Regions from separate parts of the Homo sapiens genome. Here region 2 is linked to region 1. Evidence: promoter capture Hi-C in 16 types of primary human blood cells and fetal thymus (Javierre and others, 2016). All regions are on one chromosome and are shown on one strand. Each heading gives the region's core, a stretch centred on a gene start or on the middle of the fragment in contact. The rest is flanking DNA. Distances are from core to core; before and after follow the strand shown.

Region 1 (3,735 bases), core at 344-2,843:
TGTTTCCGGGAGCGGAGCTCCCCAGAGCCCGTGTGTGTCACTGCCAGTCTCCCGGGACCAAGGCGGAGCTCACAACAGGTGGGGAGGGGGGCTCGTCGAGGGCCAAAAAGAAGAAGGAATCTAAGTTTCCGAGCGCGACGTTGTCTGAAAAGGAGGGAGGCGGGAGGCGGGGGCGAGGGAAGGCGGAGGCAGCAAATGACCGCGACCCCGCGGCAACTGGCAAACTCCTCGGCTCCCGGCGCCGCCGCCACCGCCGTGGTCCCCACTCGAAGCGCACGCCGCCTCGGCTCGCTGGCTCCAGGGAGTCGTCTCGGCGGGACAGGAATAGAGCGCAGGGAGCTCGGGAGGAAGGCTGCGCGCAAGCGAGGGACGGAGAGCCATCGGCCGCCAGGACAGGGCCGGAGGGACGAGGCGACACGCGCGCGACGCAGGACAAATCGGAGCTTGGGAAATCTCCCCGTCCCCCAAGCTTCAGAGGGGGGTAAAATCAGAAAATGTGTGTGATGGTGGGAGAGAGATCCGGGCGCGGCGACTCCTCGCAGCGCATCCGGCTCCCGCACCCACCCGTGGATCTGGCCACGGCTGTTGCGGACTCGTCTCGGGAAAGCGGAGGCCGAGCGCGCGTAGGGGTGCGTGTCTGGCTGGGGGTGCGCAGGTGCGTGTTTGAATTTTCCGGGCTCCGAGGGGGTGGCGGGAGAGCTTCCTCGCCGCTGACTCTCGGGGTAACGCGCGCGTGGCAGCGGGGAAGTTCCCCAGTGCGGGGCCCAGGGCCAGGCACCACAGTCAGTTTGCTGGGGCCCGCGGGGCAGCTCAAGGGCACCGAGGGGGCACACACCCGCGGGGAAAGAAGGGGAAAAGTTTGCTCCAAGTCTAAACTTTGGGCCTAGGAGGCGCCCGGCGCGCGCCCCCTCCCGCCGCGGCCAGGACCCGGGACCCCGCACCGGCCCCGCGCCCGGGCGGCCACCGGACGCCAACGCCGGACATCGAAAGTTGCGCCAGGCGGCCTGGGCTTATTGATTTCTCTCCCCTAGGCGATCGTGGAGAGCGCAGAGAGAGGCGTGAAGGGGCCTACGGGCAGGCGATCTCGCCTCCTCACAGTCGCCACCGCCCCCGCCCCCATTTGACTTATGCAAATAAACCCAAAGGGTGCGGGCGCCGCCGGAGCTCCCTCCACCCGCGCGCCGGCCCGCAGCCCCCACCCATCCCAGAGCTGGGCCTCGACCCGGGGGGGAGAGGAAGAGAGGGGAGGGCTGGGGGAGATGCACGTGGAGCCTGGAGGTGGAAAGTAGTTGTTTTTTTTTTTCCATTTTTTTTCTCTTTTTCTTTCTTTCTTTTTTTTTTTTTGTGCTGGTTGTTGTTGTTGTTTAAAGTGGCGGAAACAAGACAGGAGGCGGCTTGGGAAAAAGTGGAGCAGAAATGGAAAAATACAAACTCACCCGCTGCAAATGGTCTCTCGGTGCAAACTAAGGTGTTTTCGGGCCTTTCCCCGCGCGCGCCCACTCCCGCCCGCGCGCGCACCCCGCGCACACACTCACTCGCGCACACACGCGCGCACACACGCACTCCCGGGCGAGGGCCGGGCCGCCGCGAGTACAGCGTGCAACCGCCACACAATAAATAACAATAGATTCCTCCGCTCCGGACTAGCTTCCCGGAGCCCAGCCAGCGCCGGTGGCGGCGGCGGCGGCGGCAGAGGCGCGGGCAGCACCGGCCCGGGGGCGCACCCCGGCCCGACCCTCTACCTCCCGCAGGGGTCCCCTCTCCGCTTCACGCACCCCGCTGGGCACTCCAGCGGCCCCCCGAGCGGGAGCGGCTCCCTCTTTGCCGTTCGCCGGGGCGCTGGCGCCCACCCCCCTCCTCCCTCCCCCCTCCCCCCCGACATCCCGGAACAAATAAATAAATAAGGCGCGCGAGAGAGGCCAACACGTCGCGGAGGGAGATGTTGTTATTTTTTGCTGTTGTGCGTCCCTGACGTCACATCCACCTGCTGGGTAAACAACCGGGCTCCCAGAAAAAAAAAATCGCAATTGCCAAAGAATGGGGGGGGGGGTTGGGGGGAGGGATCCAGGGAGGGGGAAGTGAGGGGCGTCCAGGCAGGATTGGAAAGAGGAGAGGGAGGCAGAGCCCCGCGGACCAGAGAGAGGAAGGGAACGCCAGAGCAGTCCCTGGCAACAGAGGGATCTGGCAGGAAAGACCTGGAAAATAAGGGGCAGGGGGGCGGAGGGGGAGATTCCTCAGGAGATGGGAAATGGGGGGCCCATTCAGACAGCGGAAAAAACGAGAAGGGAGAGTGTTAACTAGGGACGAAGATGGGAATGCGATGGCTATTTGCTTGGATTCTGAGCTAAAAATATGAAAGGGAGGGGAGAGGACAGGCTAGAATGTGAGTTTCCTCCAGTTAAAAGTGAAAGTGTTTTGCCATCAGTGACAGTTGAAGGAGAGCGGGGTGGGAGGTGGTGTTTTCAACCCCCTTTCTCCCTCTCTCCCGTCCTCCCTCGGTCTCTCCTCTTTCTTTCTGCACTTTGTCCAATGAAAGAAGGCGAGTTCGGGAGGTGAAAGTTCAGCAGAAGGACAAACCCCTGTTTGCAAGGAAACAGAAACCCCGCCAGCCAGCGAGGGGTTTTCTCCCCTGTTTCTCGGAATCAGGAGAGTGTGAATGTGGGACGAGCTTCTGCCCCCTTGTCAGAGCCACTGCAGGAATGTGCAATCGAGTCCACTTTGGGGGAAGGTGGCTGCATCAGGAACTGTGTTCTTGCCACGACTCCTCTTAGGAAAACGCCTGGGGGCTAGCATGTCAGTCCGTTGTTTAACACAAATTACCTGCTCTCCCAGTGATCAGTCACGTGCAAAAAGCTTTGTCCAATTCTTTGAAAAGGTGAGATTTTTTTTTTTCTTTTTGCGGTTTTTGAAGTTTGGTTGAATTTAGAAATTCGAAGGAATAAACTAAGAGCCTGAATTAAATGTTTTGAAATATACATACATAAAACAAAAGACACTAGTATTTCTTTCACTTTTATCAATACGCATAGAGAAGGAAGCAGAGTATGTGTTTCCAAAACGTGACTTGGAAAGCTGTAAGACCTCTATGTCTTGTTGTTGTTGTTGTTGTTGTTGTTAACAGAAGTAAATTTTTTCAGACCCACCACCACAGAAGTGGCCAGACTCCCAAACCAGCATTTCCAGCTACTGGCTGGCTGGTGTACACCAGGCCAATTCTTTATGAGAATATATTAAAAGTCACCCCTGTGGATTCCTACAAAGTACTTCCCCTTGCGGGGAGGGGAGAGGCTTACTGTCCCTTTGGTCTTGAGACCAGCACAGTTGTAGATAATATCCTGAAAAGGTTATTATTAAATTCTTTCGCGTAATGCCCCTTTACAAATATTGTTAAACATTAATTTACAGAAGAACTTAAATCTTAATTTCAAGGGTGGCATAAGACTATCGCTTTGAAATTGTATCTTTCGCAAGTTAAAAAAAAAAAATAACAAAGCCATTCGCTGATGCTACAGAATAAAAGAAAGGGAGGCTGCTAAGGTAATTTCAGCCTGGTAGAATTCACATTGCATGCATGCTGCATAAAGTTCCATGCTATCCAGATAAGACTATTCACTGAATCTTTTAGACTAGAATCTAGACCAATAAAATGCATTTTAGTTTGTATGGAATGTCCTAGCTTCCTAGAGGCTAGGGTTCGACGTCTTGTTTGTCAAGACATAAAGGGATTAATGACAT
Region 2 (3,735 bases), core at 626-3,125, 280 kb before region 1:
CCTGTAGACCATTTCTTAAGGGCAACCATTTTTCTTAGGACCTCCAAAAATACACCACATATGTCCTTACACGCAAATAAATACATGTTTATTTGACAAATACAGACCAAAAAGCAACTGAATTAAAATGCCTGGAAGGCAAAAGACACAGCCCTGGATATAACTTCACTAATCACATTTGCATTTACCTTTTTTGGCTTCTGTAAAGCAATCTTCAGTTATAGTCACCTCAAAAGGTCACGTCTTACCCTGAAAACAAAAGAGAACATCAAAATCTGAATGTCAAGAGAAGTAGCAACCACCTCTGCCAAGGACAGACACAAGGAAAACAACAAAAGCACTCAATTCTATTTAATGGCAAATGACTTTCAGGGTTAATAAAAACAAGTCCCAAGAATCTCTACTTATCTGGACCATATGCCTTTGAGCTCTTCAAGACAACAAAATTGACTTGGTGGGGAAAAGTCAAGGTGAAACATTTCAAATGTTGTGTATCAACTTTTTCTCATCTTGTTGTCTATCGATTTATTTTCATGGAGAATAATATGTGACTCATAGGCCTCTGTTTTTGGAAACCAGACTGCCACTTGAACGTGTCTCTGTTTGGTTAATATCCACAACATCTCTTATTTCATTAAAGCAAAGACTTATTTTTTTCCCCTTTTGGAAGAGAGTTAGGTCTTGTAGACAAGATGCTTTCTGCCACTTCGGACCTTTCAAAATGAATGAAAGCAGCACCATTTTCACTTTGGGGAGGGGCAGGGAGTTAATTGCTGGCGAAAGCTGTTCACAGAATGTTTTTCTCTTACCATGTATCTACCGGAGCTACTAAGTTAAATTAAAAAGGGTTCATGTCACATGAAACAAACAATTGAAATCAAGCTTCCTAAAACACAAAGAAACCATGGAACACATTTTACCCCACATCCTACTCCTGCATCTGCATACTCCCGTATGCAAAACAGTGTTTAATCCTTTAAGAAACATTACAAGCTGCCTCTTTCTGCCCATGTAACTGGGATCAACATATGGCACGAGTGAAAAGAAAAACATTTGTTTATTAATTTAGATCAAGTTACTAAGAGGGTACAGGATTCATTCCATATCCATTGACCAAATGCTCATATAATTTTTAAGGTGGCGAAATCATATCATCATTTTACCAAAATGTTAATATCTTTTTGCTCACTCTTCAGAATAGCATGTAATGAAGTGGTTTAATTTTATAGGAATATATCCCTGCTCATCCCTCTGCTGTCAGCCCTGAATGTGGAAAGGCAAACATCATTGAGAAGAGTAAAATCTTATTTCACGAGGGCTAAAAATTTGAAAGTGGCACTTTGGTGTGTACTATCTTTGAGGAATTGATCCGAGGCCAATTTATGACATTTCCACAAGCAAGTGTATGCAGATTCTTGCCATTAAGATTGGAAAAAGACGCAGGCTCTGAGTGAAATCATAATTTTCATGTTTACTGTAAGAGGAAATTGGAGGTTTTCACCATAAATTTTCACCATTTGGGTGGGGGAAAACCCTAGCTCTGGGACTTAAAATTACTATTTTGCAGCCTGACCAAAACCTTTTTGTTTTTACACAAAACAATTCAAATTGAAAATGAAAATCGTGTGCTTTACTGCTGATGTATGTCCCCAAGATTGGTTTCTCCAGTAGTGAGAAGTCTATTTCAGGGCAAGCAACGATAAGAAAGAAAAACAGAGCAAAGATGGTCAGGTCCTCAAGGTAGAGCTAAGATCTGCAGAGCCCCACTCTACACAAATCAGAGCTCAGTAGATACAAAGCGCACACAGAAATTTCTACATCTACCACTCATCAAATCTTAAATGTAAAGCAAGTGAACTTTGGCAGATCCTACTCAATTCAAAGCAAGAACGCCTTTTCCTCTCTCCTTTTTACTTGAGATGTTCTCCAATACATGCACTGTAAACTAATTTATATGTTTATCTATTGAGCTGTGTCTATTTTTGCATGTTTGGCAGTCAGACCTATAGTATTAGACTTTGCAATGCAGATGAGATTTGCCATCATATAGGCCTGGCAAACAACTGGACCTCATTAAAATTTAATTTTTTTAAAAAACTGCTGAAAATGCCTCCTTCGAATAAAGTTATCTCCAGTGCTGCATTTGAACCTGCGGAACACTTTCAGGTAAACACTAGACCTGTTTTTCTACTCACCTATCCACACAGTATAGTGTGTAAGTGAACACAGAACAAAAATAGAAGCTGATTCAGCCTCAGATTTAACCAGTATCATTTTTTTCCCCTAGGGATACTGGGGAAAGAATTACAACAAAATTATACAACTGACCATCCAATTTATAAATACTAAAACAATACGAAACTGACTACATTTAATTTTCACTTATACATAAAAAATGGGCAGTGGGATATAATCTCTATCTTTCTCCATTTTGAAGTTCCATAAATTTTGGTGCACATGCACGATTGGCCACTCATTAATTTATTTCTGTTGATTTTCATTTTTAGAGAAGGTATAACATTAACAAAGTAATCTAACAGACATTTTTCTAGTTTTGCTGAGAAAAAGATTAATAGTTCAACAGCTGTTTGCCATCATGCTAAAGTAAATGAAATGTGTCAATATAATAGACAAGAAAATTAGGGCTAGTACTGGGGCCCGAGTCTGCCTCATTACTAGCTTAGAAGAATTGGAAACCAACAACTAGCAGAAAAATAGGCATTTCATTTTTTCCAAAGCATACAACTTCCCTTTCCAATACTATATTTGCTATTTTCTTTAAATCACTTTTACTTATCAAATAGATCAACTATTTACCTGTATGCTTACTGGCAGCACAAGCACCAAAACTAAAATTAAATGATTATGCAAAGCTTTTATGTAAAAAAAAAAAAAAAAAAGATAAAGATAAAAGAAATACATTCCCCTCCAGCCCACTTGTCTTCTTTTAAAAAATGCTGTCTCCATACGAATTGCGTTTTTTTTTCTTTTTCTCTTTCTTTTTTAAGTTTCCTACTGGTTTTAGGTTTTAAAAGTGAGCCAAGGATATGGTAAACAGAAATTACTTATTTTCCTTTATGTCATTCTCTGTAACAGTTAAGATCCTGTGAACACCAGAATTGTTCCATGGCCTCTTCACTATTGATTGCAACAGTATCATTTACCTGAAGTTACACAGTGACCACAAAAACCATGTCCAGGACACCAAATTTCTACTGCGAACTCTAGGGTGAGACACTAAATGTACATTCCTCTTTCTCTACCTCCCCAACCACCCCTCCTCCCTAATTAGGACTGTTATTCTAAAGAACCCTCAGATTATTGCAGTATTTCAATATCATACTTTCTATGGATATATTTTGCCCTTAATTTAATCTGTGTGACATATAATACACGGTGTCCACTAGTATGTCCTACTTGGAACTGAGTTGCAGGTAAATGTGGAGGTGCAATCTCATTTCACAAAACTGAAAATGAAGAGTATCAGCTCTTTTTTTCCCCATTTATAGTATTTCCCCCTTCCCTTTCTTGACAGCTAAAATAAATTATCTGCATTAAGATTTCTGCATTATATTTCATTTTATATAATTGTGCAAAAGCAACTCTGAAGTATGCCCAACATAGTTCATCTCAATCTTCAGCCTACCCAATACTGGCTGAGAACCTATTGTGTACCAGTCTTAATAAAGATGCAAAGATGAGCAAAGCAAGCCCCTGGGTGGTGATGGGGGGCAG

Evidence for each region. The method cuts DNA at HindIII sites, captures the fragments that hold promoters and counts their contacts. A CHiCAGO score of 5 or more calls a contact.
Region 2: a fragment that was not itself captured here is called in contact with the fragment with the promoter of FOXP1 in region 1 in 10 of 17 cell types (naive B cells, total B cells, activated CD4 T cells and 7 more); the score reaches 9.6 in naive B cells.

What each region holds. Positions count from the first base shown.
Region 1 is chr3:71,582,135-71,585,869 of GRCh38, forward strand. It overlaps FOXP1 (forkhead box P1), which reads right to left and starts at 1,594. Exons shown (of 21, transcript NM_001349338.3): 1 at 1,437-1,594. FOXP1-DT (FOXP1 divergent transcript) reads left to right here and starts at 2,809. Exons shown (of 1, transcript NR_182289.1): 1 at 2,809-3,735. RefSeq lists a silencer at 1,467-1,706 and an enhancer at 1,784-2,078. The HindIII fragment of the contact is 2,384 bases long and covers 468-2,851 here.
Region 2 is chr3:71,299,632-71,303,366 of GRCh38, forward strand. It overlaps FOXP1 (forkhead box P1), which reads right to left. Exons shown (of 21, transcript NM_001349338.3): 5 at 189-249. FOXP1-AS1 (FOXP1 antisense RNA 1) reads left to right here. Exons shown (of 5, transcript NR_126463.1): 4 at 3,097-3,229. Among named protein-coding and RNA genes, the nearest start is that of FOXP1-AS1, 12 kb to the left of the region's middle. The HindIII fragment of the contact is 1,991 bases long and covers 881-2,871 here.